Linked DNA regions of Homo sapiens: regions 1, 2 and 3 are each linked to region 4. Evidence: promoter capture Hi-C in 16 types of primary human blood cells and fetal thymus (Javierre and others, 2016). All regions are on one chromosome and are shown on one strand. Each heading gives the region's core, a stretch centred on a gene start or on the middle of the fragment in contact. The rest is flanking DNA. Distances are from core to core; before and after follow the strand shown. Region 1 overlaps ZNF585B (zinc finger protein 585B). Region 2 overlaps ZNF607 (zinc finger protein 607). Region 3 holds the start of ZNF383 (zinc finger protein 383). Region 4 holds the start of ZNF470 (zinc finger protein 470).

Region 1 (2,700 bases), core at 157-2,656, about 19 Mb before region 4:
GCCGGACACGGTGGCTCATGCTTGTAATCCAAGCACTTTGGGAGGCCAAGGTAGGTAGATCACCTGAGGTTTGGAGTTCGAGACCAGCCTGGCCAACATGGTGAAATGCCGTCTCTATTAAAAATACAAAAAATTAGCCAGGCTGGTGGCACGTGCCTGTAGTCCCAGCTATTTGGGAGGCTGAGGAGGGAGAATCACTTGAACTTGGGAGGTGGAGTTTGCAGTGAGCTGAGATTATGCCACGGCACTCCAGCCTGAGCGACAGAGGGAGACTCTGTCTAAAAAAAAAAAAAAAATCTAGTTTTACATAATTTGTGGAACACAGAAATCTAACAAAGAATTCCAGCTATTTGTTCTGTTCTACAGTCAGTCAATCACTCATTTTTCAAAACTGGCCATTGAAATAGGCTGTCTTGGCTGGGCCCGGTGGCTCATGCCTGTAATCCCATCACTTTGGGACGCCGAGGTAGGTGGATCACGAGGTCAGACGTTCAAGACCAGTGTGGCCAACATAGTGAAACCCTGTCTCTACTAAAAATACAAAAAATTAGCCGGGCATGGCGAGCACCTGTAATCCCAGCTACTCAGGAGGCTTAGGCAGGAGAATCGCTTGAACCTGGGAGGCGGAGGTTGCAGTCAGCCGAGATCATGCCACTGCATTCCAGCCCGGGATACAGAGCAAGACTCCATCTCAAAAAAAGAAAGAAAGAAAGAAATAGGCTGCCTTTTAGTCTTCTAGCACATGGATGAACAACCTGCCACACAGTGGCTGATCAATTTAGGACCAGTCATTATGCTACTCCTGAGGACACAGAAATGAATTATTTATGTTACTAGTCTTCACGCAACCTGAAATACATAGAAAATAAATAAGACCAAAGTTTGAAAAAGTGAAGACATTAAGTTCATTAAGGTGCTGAAAAGTAGATCTCTATCTGAGACACCCTGAGGGCTAAAAAGAAGAAAAAGTGCATTCTACATGAGGAAATAAGTTTACATTTCATAGAGCGGAAGAATTTAACTTGGAAGATAAGAAGAGTAATACAAAGTATGGGGTAAGGGGGACATTGCCCAGCAAAGACAAGAACAAAAAGATGGGGAGATGGGCTCCAGTGAGCCACGATTGCATCACCGCACTCCAACCTGAGTGACAGAGCGAGAACCTGTCTCAAAAAAAAAAAAAATAAAATAAGGCCGGGCGCAGTGGCTCATGCCTGTAATCCCAGCACTTTGGGAGGCCGGGGCAGGTGGATCACCTAAGGTCAGGAGTTCGAGACCAGCCTGGCCAACATGGTGAAACCCCATCTCTACTAAAAATACAAAAAATTAGCCAGGTGTGGTAGTGTGTGTCTGTAATCCCAGCTACCCAAGGCAGAGGTAGGAGAATCGCTTGAACCTGGGAGGTGGAGGTTGCAGTGACCCAAGATTACGCCACTGCACTCCAGCCTGGGTGACAGAGTGAGACTCCATCTCAAAAATAAATAAACAAATAAATAAATATTAAAATACACAATGAGGGCCGGGCACAGTGGCTCACGCCTATTATCTCAACAACTGGGGAGGCCGAGGTGGGTGGATCACGAGGTCAGGAGTTTGAGACCAGCCTGGCCAACATGTTGAAACCCCCTCTCTACTAAAGATACAAAAAATTAGCTGGGCACAGTGGCACATGCCTGGAATCCCGGCTACTTGGGAGACTGAGGCAAGCGAATCGCTTGAAGCCAGGAGGCAGAGGTTGCAGTGAGCCGAGATTGCGCCACTGCATTCCAGCCTGGGCGACAGTGCAAGACTCCATCTTAAAAACAAAACAAAACAAAAAAAAACACCACATGAGTTTAAAGAACAGCAAATAGGGCTGGACATGGTGGCTCACACCTGTAATCCCAGCACTTTGGGAGGCCGAGGCGGGCAGATCATGAGATCAGAAGATTGAGACCATCCTGGCTAACATGGTGAAACACCATCTCTACTAAAAATACAAAAAATTAGCTGGGCGCAGTGGCGGGCGCCTGTAGTCCCAGCTAGTCAGGAGGCTGAGGCAGGAGAATGGCGTGAACCCGGGAGGCAGAGCTTGCAGTGGGCCGAGATTGCACCACTGCACTCTAGCCTGGGTGACAGAGCAGGCCTCTGTCTCAAAAAAAAAAAAAAAAAGAGAACTAAGGCCAGGGCAGGGGCTCACGCCTATAGTCACAGTATTTTGGGAGGCCGAAGTGGGTGGATTGCTTGAGCCTAGGAGTTTGAGACCAGCCCAGGCAACACAGTGAGACCCTGTCCCTAAAAAAATACCAAAAAAATTAGCCATGCCTGGTGGCAGGCACCTGTAGTCCCAGTTACTCGGGAGGCTGAGGTCGGAGGATCGACTGAGCCCGGGAGGTCGAAGCTCCAGTGAGCCGTTAATGCACCACTGCACACCAGTCTGGGTGACAGAGGGAGACCCTGTCTCAAAAAAATAAATAAAACTTAAAAAGTAAGAGACTTACGAATCATACTAACCAAATGCACCTTGTGGACTTTGGCCCCTAATTAAAATGAACCAATCTTAAAAAGATATTTACAACAATTTAGAGAAATGCAAGCAATGGGTATTAGATGATAACAAAGAATTACTGTTATTTTGTTGTAGGTGTGATATTGACTTATTTGTTATGCTAAACAAAAGAAAAAAGAATTCATCTCTTTGAGATACATATCAAAGTATTT
Region 2 (2,700 bases), core at 55-2,554, about 19 Mb before region 4:
CCCATATCATCCCAGCTATAGGAAGCAGATGTTGATCATGAGCATTAAATATGCAGAGTGGCTAAATAGCCTTTCCCATCATCGCTTATATCAACAGAGGTTTCCTGTGTAATGGCTTTTTCCAGGTTTAACAATAAATGATTGTTGCTGGAAGATGTTTACATGCAAGTATAAAGAATGGTTTCCTACGTTTTCTCAGTTTTCCTCTACTGTGAATATTTTGGCAATCCAAAACTAGAGGAATATCAGAAAAGTTTTCTTATGTTATTAAAAAAATACATTATAAATTCTCTGAATCTGAGTTAACACAGGTCATACCAAAGAAACTGCATATATGATTTACATTTTGAAAAGTTCACACCAATACAAATTGATGCCTAATAAAAACTGAACTGTATCTCAAAGCCATTCCACATTGTCTTCATTCAAATTGTTCAGTGGGATAAATCCATTGACACAATGTGCTTTCTTTACTACCTGTATATGCCACAATTTCTCTATCAAATATGAATTCTCTGATGTACTTCAAGGATGGATCTAAGCCTAAAGGACCTTCTGCATTTGTTACATTTAAAGGGTTTCTCACCAGTATGAACTCTATGATGTATACTAAGTTCATGGCTACTATTAAAAGCTTTCCCACACTCTTCACACATATAGGGATTTCCATCAGCATGAACGCTTTCATGTCTAACAAGATATGAGGCACAGTGAAATGCCTTCCCACATCTTTTACATTCATAGGGTTTATCACTGGTATGAATTCTCTCATGAATAATAAGATGTGAAGCATGACTAAAAGTTTCCCCACATTCTTTACATTCATAGGACTTTTCACCAGCATGAGTTCGGTCATGATATATGAGGCTTGTGGCATGACGAAAGGCCTTGCCACATTCCTTACATTCGTAGGGTTTCTCAGCGCTATGAATATTCTGATGGGCTTTAAGTACAGAAATGAACCTAAAAGACTTCCCGCATTTGTTGCATTCAAAGGGTTTCTTACCACTGTGAATACTCAGATGCTGAGTAAGTTGTCCAGATACACTAAAGGCCTTCCCACATTCCTTACATTCATAAGGTTTCTCACCAGTATGAACTCTGCGATGTATAGTGAGTTTATGGCTATAACTAAAACCCTTCCCACACTCTTGACATACATAGGGTTTCTCTCCTGTATGAATTCTCTCATGTATAACAAGATATGAGGCACAACGAAAGGACTTCCCACATTCTTTACATTCAAAGGGTTTGTAACCAGTATGAATTCTGTTATGATGGGCAAGGTGTGCACGCTGACTGAAGGCCTTCCCACATTCCTTACATTTGTAGGGTTTCTCACCGGTATGAATATTTTGATGTATTTTAAGGGATGAATTGAGCCTAAAGGACTTCCCACATTTGTTACATTCATAGGGTTTCTTACCACTATGAATACCCTGATGTCGAGTAAGTCGTCCATGCACACTAAAGGCTTTCCCACATTCCTCACACTTATAAGGTTTCTCAACACTTTCAAATGTATGAGGTGCAGTAAGTTGATGGCCACTACTAAAAGCCTCCCCATTTTCTTTACATTCATAGTGTTTCTCCCCTGAATAAATTCTCTGATGCATGGTAAGTTGATACCTACATGTAAAGCCCTTCCCGCATTCCTTGCATTCATAGGGTTTTTCTCCAGTATGAATTCTTTTATGACCCACAAGGTGGGAAAACTGACGAAAGGCCTTTCCACATTCCTTACATTCATGTGGCTTCTCTCCAGTATGAATACTCTGATGTACTTTAAGGCCTGCTTTGAGCCTAAAGGACTTCCCACATTTGTTACATTCAAAGGGCTTCTCACCAGTGTGAATACTCTGATGTCGACTAAGTCGTCCATACACACTAAAGGCCTTGCCACATTCCTTACATTCGTAGGGTTTCTCACCATAATGAAATCTATGATGTACAGTAAGTTGACGGCTAGTCCTAAAAGCTTCCCCACACTCTTTACATTCATAGGGTTTCTCAACATGAACTTTCCCATGTTGAGCAAGGTTTGCAGGATAACTGAAGACCTTCCCACATTCTTCACATTCATAAGGTTTCTCACGAGCATTAATTTTCTGATGCTTTCTAAGGTCTGTAAGATGGCTAAATGCCTTCCTAAACTTTTCACATTGATCAGGTTCCTCACTAGTATGAATTGTTTGATGTACCATGAGTTCTGTAAGATGACTAAAGGACTTCTGACATTGCTTACACTCATATGGTTTCTGTCCATTATGAATTCTCTGATGGAGAGTAACACATGAGTGTTTCCTATAAAGCTGCATTTTCCCATCGCTGATTATTTCACATCTTGAATCCAAATCTAGAAGACATAAAATAAAAACATTTTATTGGATGAGAAAATGTCAATGTTATTGTAGAATTAAGAGAAATTCTCACCTATTACAGATGCTAACTCGAAAATACAGTTATAAAATATAAAAAATGAAAGGAGAGCTAAAAAAATGAGTTTGTGCAGTGGAATGCAGCCTTACACACACAGGCACACATACACAAAGAGACACACACACACACAGAGCCCTGTTTTGTAGTGTTTGCCAAGATCTCTGGTGTAAATACTCCCACTGAGGGCAATTTCTAGCTGTCAATTTAATGCAGATTTATTAATATATGTGCATAACTGGCTCTAGAATGACAGAACTGACC
Region 3 (2,700 bases), core at 175-2,674, about 19 Mb before region 4:
TGGTGCACACCTGCAGTCCCAGCTACTCAGGAGGATCGACTAAACCCAGGAGGTCAAGGCTGTGGTGAGCTATGTTAACACCACTGCACTCCAGACTAGGCAACAGAGCAAGACCCTGTCTCAAAAAAAAAAAAAAAAAAAAACTGAGAAGGTAAGCCCCAGGCAGGGAGAGAATATTTGCAATTTGCAATATGTATATTTGGCAAAGGACTTTTACCCAAACATATAAAGAATTGTTACAACTCAATAATAACCAATTTTAAAATAAGAAAATTTTATTTATTTATTTATTTATTATTATTTTTTGAGATGCAGTTTTGCTCTTGTTGCCCTAGCTGGAGTGCAACAGTGTGATCTCAGCTCACAGCAACCTCTGCCTCCCGGGTTCAAGTGATTCTCCTGCAGGGATTACAGGCATGCACCGCCACGCCTGGCCAATTTCGTATTTTTAGTAGAGACGGTGTTTCTCCACGTTGGTCAGGGTGGTCTCGAACTCCCAACCTCAGGTGATCTGCCCGCCTCAGCCTCCCAAAGTGCTAGGATTACAGGCGTGAGCCACTGCGCCCAGCCGAATATTTTCAATAGATGTCACAAAAGAAGATAAAAGAATGGCAAATAAGTATATGAAAGTATGCTAAGTTCATTGACATCAGGAAATGCAAATTAAAAACATAATTTGATACTACTGCTCATTCCTTAGAATAGTCAATAGATGCCTGATGTGGGGTTTGGGAGGTGGGGATTGACTTAACAATGTGGGGGGCAGAGGGCGGTGAATAAAAATATTCTATATCCGCCGGGCGCGGTGGCTCACGCTTGTAATCTCAGCACTTTGGGAGGCCGAGGCGAGCGGATCACGAAGTCAGAAGTTCGAGGTCGGGAGTTCGAGACCAGCCTGTGAGCTCGAACCCTGTCTCTACTAAAAATACAAAAATTAGCCAGGCATGGTGGCGGGCACCTGTAATACCAGCTACTCGGAAGGCTGAGGCAGGAGAATCGCTTGAACCCGGGAGGCGGAACTTGCAGTGAGCCGAGATCTCGCCACTGCAGTCCAGCCTGGGTGACAGCTAGACTCCAACTCAAAAAAAAAAAAAAAAAAATTCTATATCCAGTAACACTAAGGATAAATGCTTGAGGGGATAGACACCCTATTTTACATGATATGATTCTTACGCATTGCATGCCTGTATCAAAACATCTCATGTACCCCATATACAACTACTATGTACCCACAAAAATTTAACTAAAATGCTTAAAAATTTTTTAATTTTAAAAAATATTCTATATCCTGATTACGATGGTGGTGACAAGGGTTTAGACATGCGTTGAAGCTTACCGAACAGTTCACTTAAAATGAGTGCATTTTATTGTATCTAAATTATTCTTCAGTAAAGTTGATTTTTAAAAAACATGCACACAAATATAATTTACAAACTATAACATTAGCTCGTTTATGGTGTACCATTCAGTCACTTTTAGTGTATTCAGAGTTGTGCAAACATCATTATCTAATTCAAGAAGCTTTGCATTACCCCAAAAATGAACCCTTTAGCTATTACCAATCACTCACAGTTCCCCCTAATCCTGCTAGTCCTAAAAAACTCTAACTTACTCCTTTTCCGTAGATTTGACTATTTTAAATATTTCCTATAAATGCAGTCATACAGTATGTGGCTTATCCACGGATGAAGGCAAAAATGACGATTTAGTCAGTCTAGCATTCTCAGAGAGCGTTATAACGCCTAGTACAGTCCGGGGTCCTGGGTGCGTTCTGCACTGAGTCGGCTTGGGGCAGGAAGTCATTTAAGCGACCTCCTTCCACTTGCCCCAGCGCCTCACCCCTTCCTGCTCTAGACTACAGTTCCCAAAAATCCTTGCGGCTCTAGTCAACATCTGGCCCGAAGCTGGCGACCTTTTCCTGTTTCTCAGGGAACTCCCTGGGGTTGGCCGGTACCATGGAGGAAGATTGTCTTCAGCGTGCAGGGCCAGCGTCCTACGGCAGTTTCACTCTGAGCCTGTGTCTGGATCACGGAGACGCGGGGTAGCGGTTCGGAGTGCGGAGCAGGGATGTCCCCGAGCTGTGCAGCTGCAAGAACCCGAAAAAACAGGCGCCATCTTCTCGGCGCGGTCCTACTCCGGACTGTATTTCCCAGAGGCCCCCGCGAGTCCAGGGCAGCCCCTTCATTTGCCTGCTGGACCCTCCGCCTCAAGGGTAGGGGAAGTGCGCGGTGAGCGGCCTGGGTCTTGCAGGCTCGGCTGGGGCCCGCAGGTACGTGCATGGGAGTTTGAAGGGACTGACCAGGCTGGTCTGGAGTGTTGGGCATGTATGAGTGTGTCGGGCATGTATGAGTTGGTCGGGCTGATAGAGGGGGTGGTGGGGAGGCGGGCGCGAGGCGTGGGCTTCCGTGTGTGAGTGTGACCTTATGTGACTGTGCCTCTCTGTGTGCGCGGGTGTGATTGTATATCCTCGTTGTAGTTGTGTAATTGTAACAATGTAAGGCTGTATGTGTAGGTATGACTGTGTCCCGTGTTGGGACTGTGATTGTGTGTGGCTGTGTAACTTTGCGTGACATTTGTGGAGGGTGTTTGTGTGGAGAGAATCTGATGAGGCTGTGACTGTGTGTTAGTCTGAGGGGTGTGTGTAATTGTGTTTGTATGACTGTTAGCAGCACTTAAGTGTACTGGATGCCTTACTGAGTA
Region 4 (2,777 bases), core at 278-2,777:
CTTTCTATCTTCAGTTCTCTGATGGATCTAAGAAAAGTTGATTTTCAGTTTGTTGAATGATTTTGTTGTTGTGAAGATGGGAATGAAGGCTTCCGAGCTCTTTATATGCCAGAGCTAAAATGAGAATATTATCATTTTCATCCAACTCAAATAACCACAAACGTTACAAGCTCTAAGATGATATTTGCTGTTTCATAGTTAAAGTATCTTCACAGCTAGACTTGGCTTTATTATGTTGTTTATGATGTCTGACATAAATTGGATCCAGGAGAGTCCAGTCTAGATGTCACTGTGTGGCCTTGGGTGATTGAGTGTGACTGGGAGGGTGAGTTAGTTTCTGGTGAGCCAGTATCTATGATGCTGTATCTTGGTCAGCTGGGGCTGCTATAACAAAATATCATAGACTAAGTGACTTGACTAAGAGACTTTATTTTTCACAATTCTGGAGGCTGGGAAGTTAAAGTGCTGGCACATTCAGTTCTTGGTGAGGGCCCCGTTGGCTTGCAAATGGGTTACATCCTGCTGTGTCCTCACATGGCCTTTGCTTGGTGGTTGTGTAAACATGGAGACCCCTCCTTCCTCTTTTTTAATAAGTGCACTGACCCCATCATAAGGGTATCACCCTTATGACCTAATCTAAAACCAGTTACCTCCCCAAAGTCCCACCTCCTAACGTCATCACACTAGGGGTTAGGGTTTCACCATAGTAATTTTGGGAGGACATATTCAGCCTATAACATGTTGTGTCATGGTGAGACTGGCAATGCTAGATTTCGTGATTTCCTAAAAAATAAAATAAAAATAAAAAACTAAGCACCTACTATGTGCTGTTTTAGTCACTGAGAATATAACCCTGAACAGGACGGAAGCTGTGTGCCTTCTTGGAACCCTCCTTCCAGCAGGGAGAGATAAAATGGGGTGGGGGGAGGTGAGGGGCGTACCGTATATCAGAGAGCAGTAACTAGTAGGCATGAAATAAAACAGGTTCCACACGCGCACCATCAGAAAGTCACAAGTGTGCAAAGCAGACAAATCCCAATCTCCTCACTTTTCTATCGCGTAGGCCCCGCCCGCGCCCCAAGCCCCGCCCTGTCATGGTTTTCCTCTCCAGAGGGTAGCCGCTACGCCTTACCGACTGCGTTTCAGTGCTGTCCCACTGCTCCTGCACACCCCACGCCTGCGACCCTACCCACCACGGACAGGCGCTCCTGCGAGCTGGAAGCCAGTTCTCTGCGTCCTGAGCCTGGCAGCTGCATCTGAACACTCGGAGCCTGGCGATGGCTTCCAGAAACCCCTGCGCCGTGGGTCGCTTCAGTGAAGGGGCCTGTACTTCGGCGACCCAGACTCCGGGCTGAGAGGCCTCCTAATCCAACCAGGAGGACCAGGAGAGGCCCAAAAGGGGACACAGGGCAGTGACCGCCAGGCTTGGAGAGGAGCCGCTCCTGGCAAAGCCAGCGCCCTATTTCTGAACGCCGCCTCCGTTCCGGACTACACTTCCCAGGGGCTATTGCAGCGGAGGACACGCCCACTTCCGGAAAGGACCCAAAGCCGGGCGAGTGCACGTCCCGCCGGTTGCTGAGGAGAAGGGAGGTCTGGGCGGGGCAGCGGCCGAGGCTGGACTGGGGCGCGGCGGGGGCGGTGTCCTGGTTCCTGTGTGGGCGGCGGGCGTGAGCGTGCGCGTGTGGCCTGGTGGCTGTGAGTGCCCATACGTGGTGAGCGTGCGGTGCTGTGCTGAGGAGGGGCGAGCGCGCGCGGGGATGGCGGCCCGGTGTGTGACTGTCCGGTGCGTGGCCGCGAATCTGCGCCTGCGTGCATGGCCCGGCGGCGTGCGGAAGGCGGTGTGTGTTGGAATGAGTGAAGCACTTTAAGTGGCCAAGAGCAGGAAACCCGGCCGGAGGAGGCTTACCCCGTTCTCCCCTGTATCGACTGCGTAGAGCCCAGTGTGGGCAAAGTCCTAGAGCCCGGGGAAGTTGCCCGGGCGGGGCAGCCTCGGCTGAAGCATTTCCTGTCAGCCCTATCTGGAAGGGGCAGAGCCCAGGACAGGGCTCCATGTCCACAGGACGGCGAGGAGCGAAGACCATGGGGACTGAGTACACAGGTAAGAGTGACAGATGACGGATGTGGCTGCCGGAGTGGACATTGAGGTTTTGGGTGCTGTCTTTCGGGGTTCAGGTGCTGGAGGAGGATGTCCCCCGTTTCTAAGGCTAGTGGACCTGGAAGTCGAAAGATTTGGAGGGTCACCTTGGGTCAGAGTGGAGCTGGGTTTAGTTAGGGAGGGACCTTGACTTGGCCAGAGACACCTAACCAGATAACCTGACTCAGGTCCTTGGTATATCACTAAGGGCCCATGGGAGAGAACACTACCCGTAATATTACCCATTATAGCATTACTTCTGGGTACTCTGCTGCTGTTGAAGGAATAGCTCAGCATTTAGATTTTTACCCGTCAGAGCCTTGTCCCATCTATCACTGTAGGATTTGGGAAGAAGGCGAGATTCACAGCTTCACCCAGAAATGCCGAGGCATTCCAGCCTTTCTATGGCTTAATCACGTTCTAGTCAATAACGGAAGATATCCCCATTCCTTGGGCTTCTCTCCCTCCCCTCTGGCCTCCCACTCCAATAAAGAGAAAGGGGGAGGAAGGGCTATTTTTAGCCATATTGTTCTGTGCTTGTTTAGTTTCCTGCATGCTATAGTAATAGCTAATGTTTAATGAGTGTTTATTATGTGCCAGACACAGTTCTAAGACCTTTTGGGAGTATCAGCACCAAACTTCA

Evidence for each region. Contacts are between HindIII fragments. The CHiCAGO score rates a contact against its expected background, and 5 or more counts as called.
Region 1: a fragment that was not itself captured here is called in contact with the fragment with the promoter of ZNF470 in region 4 in 1 of 17 cell types (total CD4 T cells); the score reaches 9.7 in total CD4 T cells.
Region 2: a contact is called between a fragment that was not itself captured here and the fragment with the promoter of ZNF470 in region 4, in 1 of 17 cell types (non-activated CD4 T cells). The highest score is 6.0, in non-activated CD4 T cells.
Region 3: a fragment that was not itself captured here is called in contact with the fragment with the promoter of ZNF470 in region 4 in 8 of 17 cell types (non-activated CD4 T cells, activated CD4 T cells, total CD8 T cells and 5 more); the score reaches 14.1 in non-activated CD4 T cells.

What each region holds. Positions count from the first base shown.
Region 1 is chr19:37,191,337-37,194,036 of GRCh38, forward strand. The region is part of intron 2 of ZNF585B (zinc finger protein 585B); the gene reads right to left. Among named protein-coding and RNA genes, the nearest start is that of ZNF585B, 18 kb to the right of the region's middle. The HindIII fragment of the contact is 4,429 bases long and covers 1-2,700 here.
Region 2 is chr19:37,697,540-37,700,239 of GRCh38, forward strand. ZNF607 (zinc finger protein 607) reads right to left here. Exons shown (of 5, transcript NM_032689.5): 5 at 1-2,356. The coding sequence ends at 501. Among named protein-coding and RNA genes, the nearest start is that of ZNF607, 21 kb to the right of the region's middle. The HindIII fragment of the contact is 1,344 bases long and covers 633-1,976 here.
Region 3 is chr19:37,216,006-37,218,705 of GRCh38, forward strand. ZNF383 (zinc finger protein 383) reads left to right here and starts at 2,209. Exons shown (of 6, transcript NM_001387601.1): 1 at 2,209-2,269. RefSeq lists an enhancer at 1,835-2,324. The HindIII fragment of the contact is 190 bases long and covers 1,330-1,519 here.
Region 4 is chr19:56,565,941-56,568,717 of GRCh38, forward strand. It overlaps ZNF470 (zinc finger protein 470), which reads left to right and starts at 1,528. Exons shown (of 6, transcript NM_001001668.4): 1 at 1,528-2,098. It overlaps ZNF470-DT (ZNF470 divergent transcript), which reads right to left and starts at 2,081. Exons shown (of 2, transcript XM_047439806.1): 1 at 1,133-2,081. The coding sequence starts at 2,081. The coding sequence ends at 1,143. RefSeq lists enhancers at 1,208-1,257, 1,268-1,477, 1,858-1,967. The HindIII fragment of the contact is 7,993 bases long and covers 1-2,777 here.